Linked DNA regions of Homo sapiens: region 2 is linked to region 1. The links are contacts of gene promoters, found by promoter capture Hi-C in human tissues and cell types (Jung and others, 2019). All regions are on one chromosome and are shown on one strand. The core of a region is centred on a gene start or on the middle of the fragment in contact, and the rest is flanking DNA. Distances in the headings are between cores, read along the strand shown.

What was found. The method cuts DNA at HindIII sites, captures the fragments that hold promoters and counts their contacts. A contact is called where the count stands out against the background at its distance.
Region 2: a contact is called between a fragment that was not itself captured here and the fragment with the promoter of GALR3 in region 1, in 1 of the 25 tissues and cell types used here (adrenal gland).

The regions. Positions count from the first base shown.
Region 1 is chr22:37,820,917-37,826,655 of GRCh38, forward strand. GALR3 (galanin receptor 3) reads left to right here and starts at 2,466. Exons shown (of 2, transcript NM_003614.2): 1 at 2,466-2,849; 2 at 3,807-4,569. The coding sequence starts at 2,491. The coding sequence ends at 4,554. The HindIII fragment of the contact is 28,947 bases long and covers 1-5,739 here.
Region 2 is chr22:37,774,804-37,780,426 of GRCh38, forward strand. TRIOBP (TRIO and F-actin binding protein) reads left to right here. Exons shown (of 24, transcript NM_001039141.3): 24 at 1-1,753. Among named protein-coding and RNA genes, the nearest start is that of H1-0, 28 kb to the right of the region's middle. The HindIII fragment of the contact is 9,173 bases long and covers 1-5,623 here.

The DNA.
Region 1 (5,739 bases), core at 1,216-3,715:
GGGATTATAGGTGTGAGCCACCATGCCCAGCTAATTTTTGTATTTTTAGTAGAGGCAGGGTTTTGCCATGTTGGCCAGTCTGGTCTCGAACTCTTGACCTCAGATGATCCGCCCACCTCAGCCTCCCAAAGTGCTAGGATTACAGGTGTGAGCCGCTGCGCCTGGCCCATAACAAACTTTTTACAAAAGATAATGTGGGGGGAAAAAAAGAAAGAAAGAAAGAAAATGTGCGGGTCATGTCTCTGCTGTAGAATCTTAGTAGTTCCCCGTTGCTATCAGGTAAAGCCAGACTTTTTGGACAGGTACCTAAACCATCTGGGCTCCAGCTGGACTAAGGCTCTGGAAAGAGCTTCCGGAGAAGGATCTCAGGATTTGCAGAGCCTGAGGGAGGAGTCTCTGGAGTCTGCCGAAAGGAGACTCAAGTCCTGGTTTCCCACTCCAGGAAACCCCAGTCAAGACTAGGAATCCTTTTTTTTTTTTTTTTTTTTTTTTTTTTTGAGACGGAATCTCGCTCTGTCGCCCAGGCTGGAGTGCAGTGGCACGATCTTGGCTCACTGCAACCTCCAACCCCTGGCTTCAAGCAATTCTCTGCCTCAGCCTCCCGAGCAGCTGGGATTACAGGTGCCCGCCACCACACCCAGCTAATTTTTGTATTTTTAGTAGACATGGGGTTTCATCATCTTGGCCAGGCTGGTCTTGAACTCCTGACCTCATGATCCACCTGTCTTGGCCTCCCAAAGTGCTGGGATTACAGGCATGAGCCACCGCGCCCAGCCTCTTCTTTTTTTTTTTTTTTTTTTTTTTGAGACAATGTCTCACTCCATCACCTGGGCTGGAGTGCAGTGGCGTCATCTCGGCTCATTGCAACCTCCACCTCCCAGGTTCAAGCGATTCTCCTGCCTCAGCCTCCAGAGTAGCTGGGATTACAGGCGCCCGCCACGACGCTCAGTTAATTTTTGTATTTTTAGTAGAGACAAGGTTTCGCCACATTGGCCAGGCTGGTCTCGAATTCCTGGCCTCAAGTGATCTGCCTGCCTCAGCCTCCCAAAGTGCTGGGATTACAGACGTGAGCCACCATGCCCGGCCTAGGAACCTTTTCTAAACATGGATTGGAGCAAGAAGGTGCAGGGATAGGGGATGGAGTCACATCAGGCTGGGCCACAGGAGGTGGGAGTGCCAGAGACTGGCTGGGCCCTGGGCACAGAGGGGTTAACTACAAAGCAAATCACAGAGAGCGAGATCAATGGGTTACTGGCTGCAGAGAGAGGAAAAGGCAGCAGCAACGCAGAGAGGCAGAGAAGAGCCAGGCAGAAGAGCCTGCCACCTGGGGGAAATCAGGGACTGAGGAGGAAGTGGCCAGTGGCTACTCCAGAGGGAGTGCCCAACTCCGGCTCAGCAGAGGGGGCAGAGGAGAGGAGGGGCCTTAAAGGCAAAGGGGGAGAAGTAGAAGGCAGACCAGTACCTGCAGGGAGGCACCAAGGGGCAGCCGCTGAATCAGGAGGCCCACCCAGCCCGGCCATTCCACCCAGGATCAAGCCCACTGCCCAAGGCGGAGGTGGGTGTTGCCCATCCTGGGCTTTGGGGACCTACTGCATGCTGGGTGCTGGGATGGGGGCAGACATTGCCTTTCTTCCCTACTCCCTGCCTGACCCCCCTTTCCCCTACTTTGTCCCACCACCCCAGTGGTCTCAAGCCTGCAAGGAGATCCACAGGCAGTAGGAGACATGGGCTGTAGAGTGGGATGGGGGTGAGCATGGGTGCGGTGTGCACACACACAAGTTGTCAGAGGCACCACCTGTTACAAGCTCTCAGATGAGCACTCTAGCTTAAGAGGCAGGATACCAGGGTGGCAACAGCCCCAGAGCTGCCATTTCGAGTGTGATATTATCCTCCCATGTCCCCTCTCTGGGCCTCAATTTCCCTATGTGCAGAGAGGAAGCAGTGACCTACACGGTCTTCCCAGTTTTGCCATTGTGATGATCTCACTATACTGGACCCTCCAATGACTCAGGGATGTTACCCGTGTTTTGCTAAGGCTACAGCTTGTAGCCAGAGAAAGCCCTAAACCCATGTCCCAGGGTCTCCCCTGAGCTTCAGATCCCCATTGAGAAGGAAAACATACCAGTTTCTGGGTTTGGCCCCTCCCCCCATCGCCATATCTTCATCCTACTTCGCTTGTGCCTTCCCCAGCCTCGTGGGTTGAAAGTGTCCCTCAAATACCTAGGTAGTCCTCCAGGCAGGACTCCAGGGGTGTTCCTTAGGAAACTGAGGAACTCTCACCCCTTGAACACCACGAGCTTGCTCACACAGTGACACTCAGCGATGACTTTGGCTCTGCTCTCCCCTCCTCCATCTCCCACGAGCTTCCAGCCCAGAACACCTGGCCAGACCCAGGTCGGGGGAGTTAGATCCCGGGGTCAAGCAACCAGAACTGGGGGCTCTTGCCTGAGGATTCCAGCTTCTCTTCCCAGGTGCCCGTCTGATGGGGAGATGGCTGATGCCCAGAACATTTCACTGGACAGCCCAGGGAGTGTGGGGGCCGTGGCAGTGCCTGTGGTCTTTGCCCTAATCTTCCTGCTGGGCACAGTGGGCAATGGGCTGGTGCTGGCAGTGCTCCTGCAGCCTGGCCCGAGTGCCTGGCAGGAGCCTGGCAGCACCACGGACCTGTTCATCCTCAACCTGGCGGTGGCTGACCTCTGCTTCATCCTGTGCTGCGTGCCCTTCCAGGCCACCATCTACACGCTGGATGCCTGGCTCTTTGGGGCCCTCGTCTGCAAGGCCGTGCACCTGCTCATCTACCTCACCATGTACGCCAGCAGCTTTACGCTGGCTGCTGTCTCCGTGGACAGGTGCGCTGTGCCTGGGGCCTGGCTGGGCAGGGCTGTGGGGGCGGGGGTTGGGGGAGGAGTCCTGAACAGATCCTCACTGGCCTTAGGAAGGAGAGAGTGGGGGACCAGAAAGGGAGGTGGGTGGGAGGAAACAAAAGCTCCCTGACCCCTCGCAAGCAGCCTCTGGGCACCTGCAGGGCGTGCTTGAGGGGACTGTCCTGCCCTTCCCCTCCTCCACTGTGAACTTCCAGAGGACGCCTCTGAGTCTCAAGTGGCAGCACAGGGTCTGGCACATAGTAAGTGCTCTGTAAGCGCGAAATGAATCGCAAAAGAAGCTCACGAATGCGTTCATCAGTTTTTTTGTTTTGTTTTGTTTTGTTGTTTTTTTTTTTTGGATCTTGGCTCACTGCAACCTCTGCCTCCTGGGTTCCAGCGATTCTCCTGCCACAGCCTCCTGAGTAGCTGGGATTACAGGCCACCACACCTGGCTAATTTTTTGTATTTTTAGTAGAAACGGGGTTTTGCCATGTTGGACAGGCTGGTCTCGAACCCCTGACCTCAAGTGATCCGCCCGCCTCGGCCTCCCAAGTGCTGGGATTACAGGCGTGAGCCACCGCGCCCAGCCCAGCTATTTTCTAACTGCCCACACCTGGCCAAGCTGTGCACACATCTGCTTCCACAGCTTGAAACTTGGGGTCAAATCCAGGCTCACTCCAGCTGATGACCCTGGGCAAGTCACTTCTCTCTGGACCTCATCTGACGCATCCATAAAATAATCCTAGAAATAACAAGTCACCGGGATCGGGCCCTTGCTAGGTGCAAGGGCCTAAGCACCTTGCGCGTTCACACCCTTAATCCCCGCCACGTCCCCCACGGTTCACAGGAGGCGCACTGGGCCGCAGGGCCCGGGCGCGGGACGTGGCGCGGGCCCCTGCGGGAGGGCACCTGCCCGCCCCGCTGACCAGGCGCCCTCCGCAGGTACCTGGCCGTGCGGCACCCGCTGCGCTCGCGCGCCCTGCGCACGCCGCGTAACGCCCGCGCCGCAGTGGGGCTGGTGTGGCTGCTGGCGGCGCTCTTCTCGGCGCCCTACCTCAGCTACTACGGCACCGTGCGCTACGGCGCGCTGGAGCTCTGCGTGCCCGCCTGGGAGGACGCGCGCCGCCGCGCCCTGGACGTGGCCACCTTCGCTGCCGGCTACCTGCTGCCCGTGGCTGTGGTGAGCCTGGCCTACGGGCGCACGCTGCGCTTCCTGTGGGCCGCCGTGGGTCCCGCGGGCGCGGCGGCGGCCGAGGCGCGGCGGAGGGCGACGGGCCGCGCGGGGCGCGCCATGCTGGCGGTGGCCGCGCTCTACGCGCTCTGCTGGGGTCCGCACCACGCGCTCATCCTGTGCTTCTGGTACGGCCGCTTCGCCTTCAGCCCGGCCACCTACGCCTGCCGCCTGGCCTCACACTGCCTGGCCTACGCCAACTCCTGCCTCAACCCGCTCGTCTACGCGCTCGCCTCGCGCCACTTCCGCGCGCGCTTCCGCCGCCTGTGGCCGTGCGGCCGCCGACGCCGCCACCGTGCCCGCCGCGCCTTGCGTCGCGTCCGCCCCGCGTCCTCGGGCCCACCCGGCTGCCCCGGAGACGCCCGGCCTAGCGGGAGGCTGCTGGCTGGTGGCGGCCAGGGCCCGGAGCCCAGGGAGGGACCCGTCCACGGCGGAGAGGCTGCCCGAGGACCGGAATAAACCCTGCCGCCTGGACTCCGCCTGTGTCCGTCTGTCTCACTCCCGTTCTCCGAAGGCGGGACGCCACCGGGCCAGGGATGGGGCAATGCCACGAGCTCTCTGAGGGGCGTTGAGTGGAGCGACTTGTCCCCGCTCCACAGCGGAGCACCAGCCCAGTGGACACCCCTGGGTGTGAATATGAACAGCACAGCCCGCCCCCAGCAGGGCAGCCCCCAGAGCCTGCCCAGAGCCAGCCTGGCAGTCCCTCTGCCCATTCTTCCAACTGGGTGACACCTAGGCCCTGCTTCCTCCACCACCTCTTAACTATCTCCTTCTTGGTTCCAAGCTCAGTCCTAGGTAATTTAACATCAACAGCTAATAAATGGCTAATATTTAAGTGGGACCAGGCGCTTGGCTCATGCCTGTAATCTCAGCGTTTTGGGAGGTCGAGGCGGGAGGATCGCTTGAGGCAGCAGTTCAAGGCTGCAGTGAGCCATGATCACGCTACTGCATTCCAGCCTAGACAGCAAAGCAAGACCTTGTCTCTAAAAACATTTATTAAGCAGGTACCATATGCCTCATGCTACATTCTTTGTCAAAACAGCTTTGCAAATAGATATGATTAACCTTTCCTTTTTTTTTTTTTTTTTTTTTGTCTTTTAGAGACAGAGTTTTGTCTCCCAGGTTGGACTACAGTGGCGCCATCTCGGCTCACTGCAACCTCCGTCCCCCGGGTTCAAGCAATTCTCCTGCCTCAGCCTCCAGAGTAGCTGGGATTACAGGCGCCCACCACCACATCCGACTAATTTTTTTTTTTAATAGAGATGGGGTTTCACCATTTTGGACAGGCTGGTCTTGAACTCCTGACCGCAGATGATCCGTCCGCCTCGGCCTCCCAAAGTGCTGGGATAACAGGCGTGAACCACTGTGCCCGGCTGTTTAGCCCCATTTTACAGATGTAGAAATCAAGGATCATAGAGATTTAGTGATTTGCCACACCGCTGGTGTTTGGCAGAGGTTGGATACAAACCCATGGCTGTGTAACTTTTTCTTTTTTTTTCTATTATTATTATTATTATTATTTTTGAGAGAGAGAGAGAGATTGTTATCCAGGCTGCAGTGCAGTGGCACAATCTTGGCTCAAGACAACCTCCGCCTCCCAGGTTCAAGCGATTCTCCTGCCTCAGCCTCCCGACTAGCTGCAAC
Region 2 (5,623 bases), core at 1,046-3,545, 46 kb before region 1:
AAGTCTGAGGAGCCCTGGAGTAGGGCCCAGGGCCCAGGCCTGAGAGAGAGGCCTGGGGCTAAGACTAGCCCTGACCATGACCTTGGGCAAGTCACACCCCTCACTGAGCCTCAGTTTGCTTCTCCATCAAATGGGTGTTTTTCTTTCAGTCCCAGTCCTCTCCTGAGGCTTTTCCCAGAGGTCATGCCCAGCCCTGGGCAGGGGTGAGGGCAGGGTTGTGGCTGCCAGGCACAGGTCCAGCGGGCTGGGAGTCCTCACCATGGCTGGCTGTGCTGATTATGGTTGCATGGGGCTGGGAAGAGGTCCCATTTCTGAGCCACAGAAACAGGCCACATCCAGTAGGGGTCCTGGAAGGCTGTGAGAACCCAGAGGAGACCCTGACCCAGCCTGCAGGTAGAAGACTGCCTTTGGAGGCAGCTTTGAAAGATGACTCTTCCAGATGGAAGAATCAGGAAGGGCCTTCCCACGTGGAGGCACCAGCAGGAGCAAACGTCCCTGGTGTGTTCAGGCAAAGAGCCACAGGAGAGTGACCTCGTGGAGTGGGAAGAGATTGTTTCCCATTCCCTTGCCAGGGATTGGTTGAGGAATGGACAAGGCTTGCAGTTCACGCAAGCCAGTGAAATGCGAGGGGAAGTCTTGGGAGTGGGGTGGAGGAGGTCATCTGGGAAGGGTGTCCTTGGTCTTAAAAAGAGGCACAAGAGGCCGGGCGCGGTGGCTCTTGCCTATTATCCTAGCACTTTGGGAGGCCAAGGCAGGGGGATCACTTGAGGTCAGGAGTTCGAGACCAGCCTGGCCAACATGGTGAAACCCCGTCTCTACTAAAAATACAAAAAATTAGCCAGACGTGGTGCCAAGCACCTGTAATCCCAGCTACTCAGGAGGCTGAGGCAGGAGAATCACTTGAACCCAGGAGGCAGAAGTTGCAGTGAGCCAAGATCGCGCCACTGCACTCCAGCCTGTGTGACAAGGGCGAAACTCCATCTCAAAAAAAAAGGGGGAGGGTGGCGCAAGGAGAGGACACCTCTCTCCTGGCCCTGTCGCCATCTTCCCTCATCAATAGCTAAAAATGGCAAAGAAGAAAGAGCCAGGACCCCGTGCCATCAAATCCTCCGGCCTTGTGCTGCCCTGTCTCGGCACTGCTTGCCTTAGGAGATCAGGAGTGTTCCTAGCCACTGGGAGATGGGATGCCTGCCACTGGCAGCTCTGCCGTCCATCCTCACCATCCCACCGTCCCCCCAAGACAGCTCTCCATCCCATCCTCTGCCTCCCTTCTAGCCTCAACCTAACTCAGGGCTCCCCCGTCTCACACCTGGGTTGCAGGAACATCCTCTTCACCAACCCCCCTCCCATCCCTCCTCAGGGCTGCCTAGGGCAGCTACAAAAACCAGGCCAGCCTCTGAAAGGTGCTCCACATCTCATTAAAAACCGTGAAATCGCACTGCCCCACTATCAGAATAGCTCAGAGGAGAAGGTCTGCCAGTACCAAGTGCTGGTGGGGATACGGAGAAGAGCAGCTCCCAGGCGCTGCTGGTGCAAATGTGCTTTGTTGCACCCACGGCAGGAAACTGACCAGCTTCTCATCAAGTTAAATACGCATCTACCCTATGGCCTAGCATTTCCACTCTTGCTTACACATCCAGGAGAAATGAGTCCTTACATGCACAAAAGGATGAGTACCGTAATACTCACATCAGCAAATAAACAATACAGCTGTGTGTCAGTAGTAGAATGAATAAATTGTGGTCGATTCATACGTTAGAATACAGCAATTTAAAAACAACTGCTACACACAAAAATGTTGGTGAATCTTTCAGACACAATGTTGAGCAAAAATAGCCACAGAAGAGTGTAAGGCTGTACGATTTTATTTAGGTGAGGTTCAAGAACAGACAAAACACGGTGATAGTGGTCAGAAGAGCGGGTACCTCTGAGCTGAGGGCATTGACCAGCAGTGGGCAAAAGGGAACATTCTGATCCCAGAAATGTTCTATATCATGGTCTGGGTTGTGGTCACGTGGGTACATACAGATGTAAAAATTCACCATGCCGGCCAGGCATAATCCCAGCACTTTGGGAGGCCAAGGTAGGTGGATGACCTGAACTCAGGAGTTCCGAGACCAGCCTGGCCAACATGGCGAAACCCCGTCTCTACTAAAAATACAAATAATTAGCCGGGCTTGCTGGCGCATGCCTGTAATCCCAGCTACTCGGGAGGCTGAGGCAGGAAAATTGCTTGAACCCGGGAGGCGGAGGTTGTAGTGAGCCCAGATCGCGCCATTGCACTCCAGCCTGGATGACACAGCGAGACTTTGTTTAAAAAAAAAAAAAAATGCCACGCCTTGCACTTACGATTTGTTCATTTTTACTATGTGTGAATCACGTCTCAATGGTGCAGGGGGTGGGAAGAAGCCTGCTTTACAAAAGAATAAGCCAGGGTTCCAGCAGGCTCCCAGATGAGCCACCTGGGAAATGGCCCTGTCACCGCGGCCGCAGGGAATTTGACCAAAACCACGTGGTTTGGCTGCAAGTTCTGGTCAACTGCTTCAGGCAGCCAGGCATGTGCTCTGTAAAGAAAACAAACTGGTTTCAGATGAACCTGCCAGGTCAAACCCTACCTGCTGCCTCCAGCTGGCTAGGTGAGCCTTACTGAGTCACATCTCTCTCTGGGCTTTACTTCCTCTTCTGATAAATGGGAACAATAACGTCTACCCCAGAGGACTGTGTAGGTGTTAAATTACCAACTGTTTCAGTTATCTATTGCTGTGTCGCCAACAACCACATATGTAATGGCCTAGAATACCACTTTTTAAATATTCATGGTCCTGTGGGTTGACCTGGCTCAACCTCTTTGTGTCTTTTTTTGAGATAAAGTCCCGCTCTGCCGCCCAGGCTGGAGTGCAGTGGTGTGATCTCGGCTCACTGCAACCTCTGCCTCCTGGCTTCAAGTGATTTCCTGCCTCAGCCTCCCAAGTAGCTGGGATTACAGGTGCCCGCCACCACGCCCAGCTAATTATTTATGTTTTTAGTAGAAATGGGGTTTCACCACATTAGCCAGGCTGGTCTCAAACTCCTGACCTCAAGTAATCCACCCACCTTGGCCTCCCAAAGTGCTGGGATTACAGGCGTGAGCCACCGTGCCCGGCCTGGACATCTTTCTCCACATGGCCACTTCACGGGGCTAGCTTGGGCTCCTTACAGCATAGTGGACTTGGGACAATCTGACTTCCTACATTGTGGTTGACTTCCCCCTAGAAGAGGAGTTCTGGCCAGGTACAGTGGCTCACGACTGTATATCCAGCACTTCAGGAGCCCGAGGCAGGAGGATCACTTGAGGCCAAGAGTTAGTTCGAGACTAGCCTGGGCAACACAGCAAAACCTCGTATCTACAAGAAATTAAAAAAACAAAAAAACAATAGCCAAGCAGCCCGGGTGAGGTGGCTCACACCTGTAATCCCAGCACTTTGGGAGGCCGAGGCAGGCAGATCACCTGAGGTCAGGAGTTCGAGACCAACCTGATCAACATGGAGAAACCCCATCTCTACTAAAAATACAAAATTAACCAGGCATGGTGGCATGCACCTGTAATCCCAGCTACTCAGGAGGCTGAGGCAGGGAAATCACTTGAACCTGGGAGGCGGAGGTTGCAGTGAGCTGAGATTGCGCCACTGCACTCCAGCCTAGGGAACAGAGTGAGACTCCTTCTCAAAACAAAAGCCAGGCATGGTGATGCATGTGCCTGGAGTCCCAGCTACTTGGGAGGCTGAGGCAGGATGATTGCTTGAGCCCACGAGTTGGAGGTTGCAGTGAACTGTGATTGCTGCCACCGCACTCCAGCCTGGGCAACAGAGTGAGACCCATCTCTAAAAAAATAAAAACAATAAAAAGTAAAGGGAGCCTCAACAGCCCCAAGTGGAACCTACGAGCTTCTTATGAATTTGGCTTGGAGGTGCTGCAGCATCCCTTCCATCACTTTAGTCAAAAATGAGTCGCACAGCCAGCCCAGGTCCAATGGGAGAGGCGGCAGCAGGGCCTGAGCGCCGGAGGTGTGGTTCACTGGCAGCCATCTTTTTCCTCTGTTTCTGCTTCAGCTACACCCCAGCTCCTCTTTAGTCCCCTATGTGGAATTCTCATTTTCTTCCCAGCCCTCTGATGTGCTTCCCTGGAGTCTGTCCTCAGCAATCCTCTGTTCTCTCGTGAAGACTTATTTATTTACTTACTTAGAGACGGAGTCTCACTCTGTCTCCCAGTCTGGAATGCAATGGCACAATCGGCTCACTGCAACATCCACCACCCAGGTTCAAGGGATTCTCCTGCCTCAGCCTCCTGGGTAGCTGGGACTACAGGCAGCCGTCACCACACCTGGCTAATTGTTGTATTTTTAGTAGAGACAGGGTTTTACCATGTTGGCCAGGCTGGTCTCGAACTCCTGACCTCAAGTGATCCCCCTGCCTCGGCCTCCCAAAGTGCTGGGGTTACAGGCGTGAGCCACCATGCCCGGCCTCTTGTGAAAACTTGATCTCTCATCCTTGGCTTTTGTTACTGTCTGTGCTAACCATCCACATCTGTCTCCAGCCCAGACCTTTTCCATGAACTCCTAAGACCTGGTCAGCCTCAGTCTTAAGGCTGCCATCAAGGCCCTGTCCTCCCTGCAGCCCGTTCCTGTTCAGTGTATTCTGCCTCGTGAGTCAGCCTCTGGAGTAGGCCCCGGGGATGCAACATGGAACCAAGCATTCTCCCTTCAGGAGGGAGGTGAAATTGGAATCAGGTGATTAATTACAAGAAGCCACAGCACAGAGGGTGTAGCAGGCCCAGCCTGGAAGGTCAGGGGAGGCTTCTTGGAAGAGGAGATGCTGGAACCGAGCAGGATAGAGCTAGGCTGAGAGGGGGAGAGAGTGCCAGGTCCAGTGAGCGTCAGAAGCTCAGCAGAGTTCAAAGGCTCTGAAATGGCTGCAGCTTGTGTGTAGAGGGATTCGAGATGAGCCTGCGGGGACAGGCTGGAGCTGGAATCTGATTTTGCAAGGACAGTGGGGGTCATGTGTCCAAGCTCTAGCTTTGTGCTTAACCCAGTGGGAGGCTATTGGGGAATTTTATGTGAGCAGTGCCTTGGCTCAGAACAGCGATCTTGGTCATCCTCAGCACATGGGGGCTATGGAAGGCCCTAAGTTGACCTAGGGTTTGGTGCAGTGGGAGAGAAGAACAGAGGATGAAACCCCGAGGAAGGGCAGAAGCCCGTAAAGCAACTGAGAGGTTCCCAGCAGCCCAAGCGAGCGAATGTTTCAGAGTGATGGAGCGGGAAGCGCCCAGGCTCTGGTGTCAGATGGCCCTCCGTCCGTCCCCCTGCTCTCAGCTCTGCAACCCGGGCAAGTTACATGACCTCTCTGTGCCTCCGTTTCCTCATCTGTAAAGCAGGGATAGTAGTACCTCCCTCCCAGAAGTATTATGAAGATGAGAAATGCGCTCATGTGTATGAAGTGCTGAGAGGGTGCCTGGGACTGAGTTAACAAGGTACATGTGAGCTGTTAAGACTATTGTGATGTGCTGCTGTTTGGGTGTTGTGAGGATTGGATGAAAAGGTGCATGTTGCCAGACGCGGTGGTTCACGCCTGTAATCCCAGCACTTTGG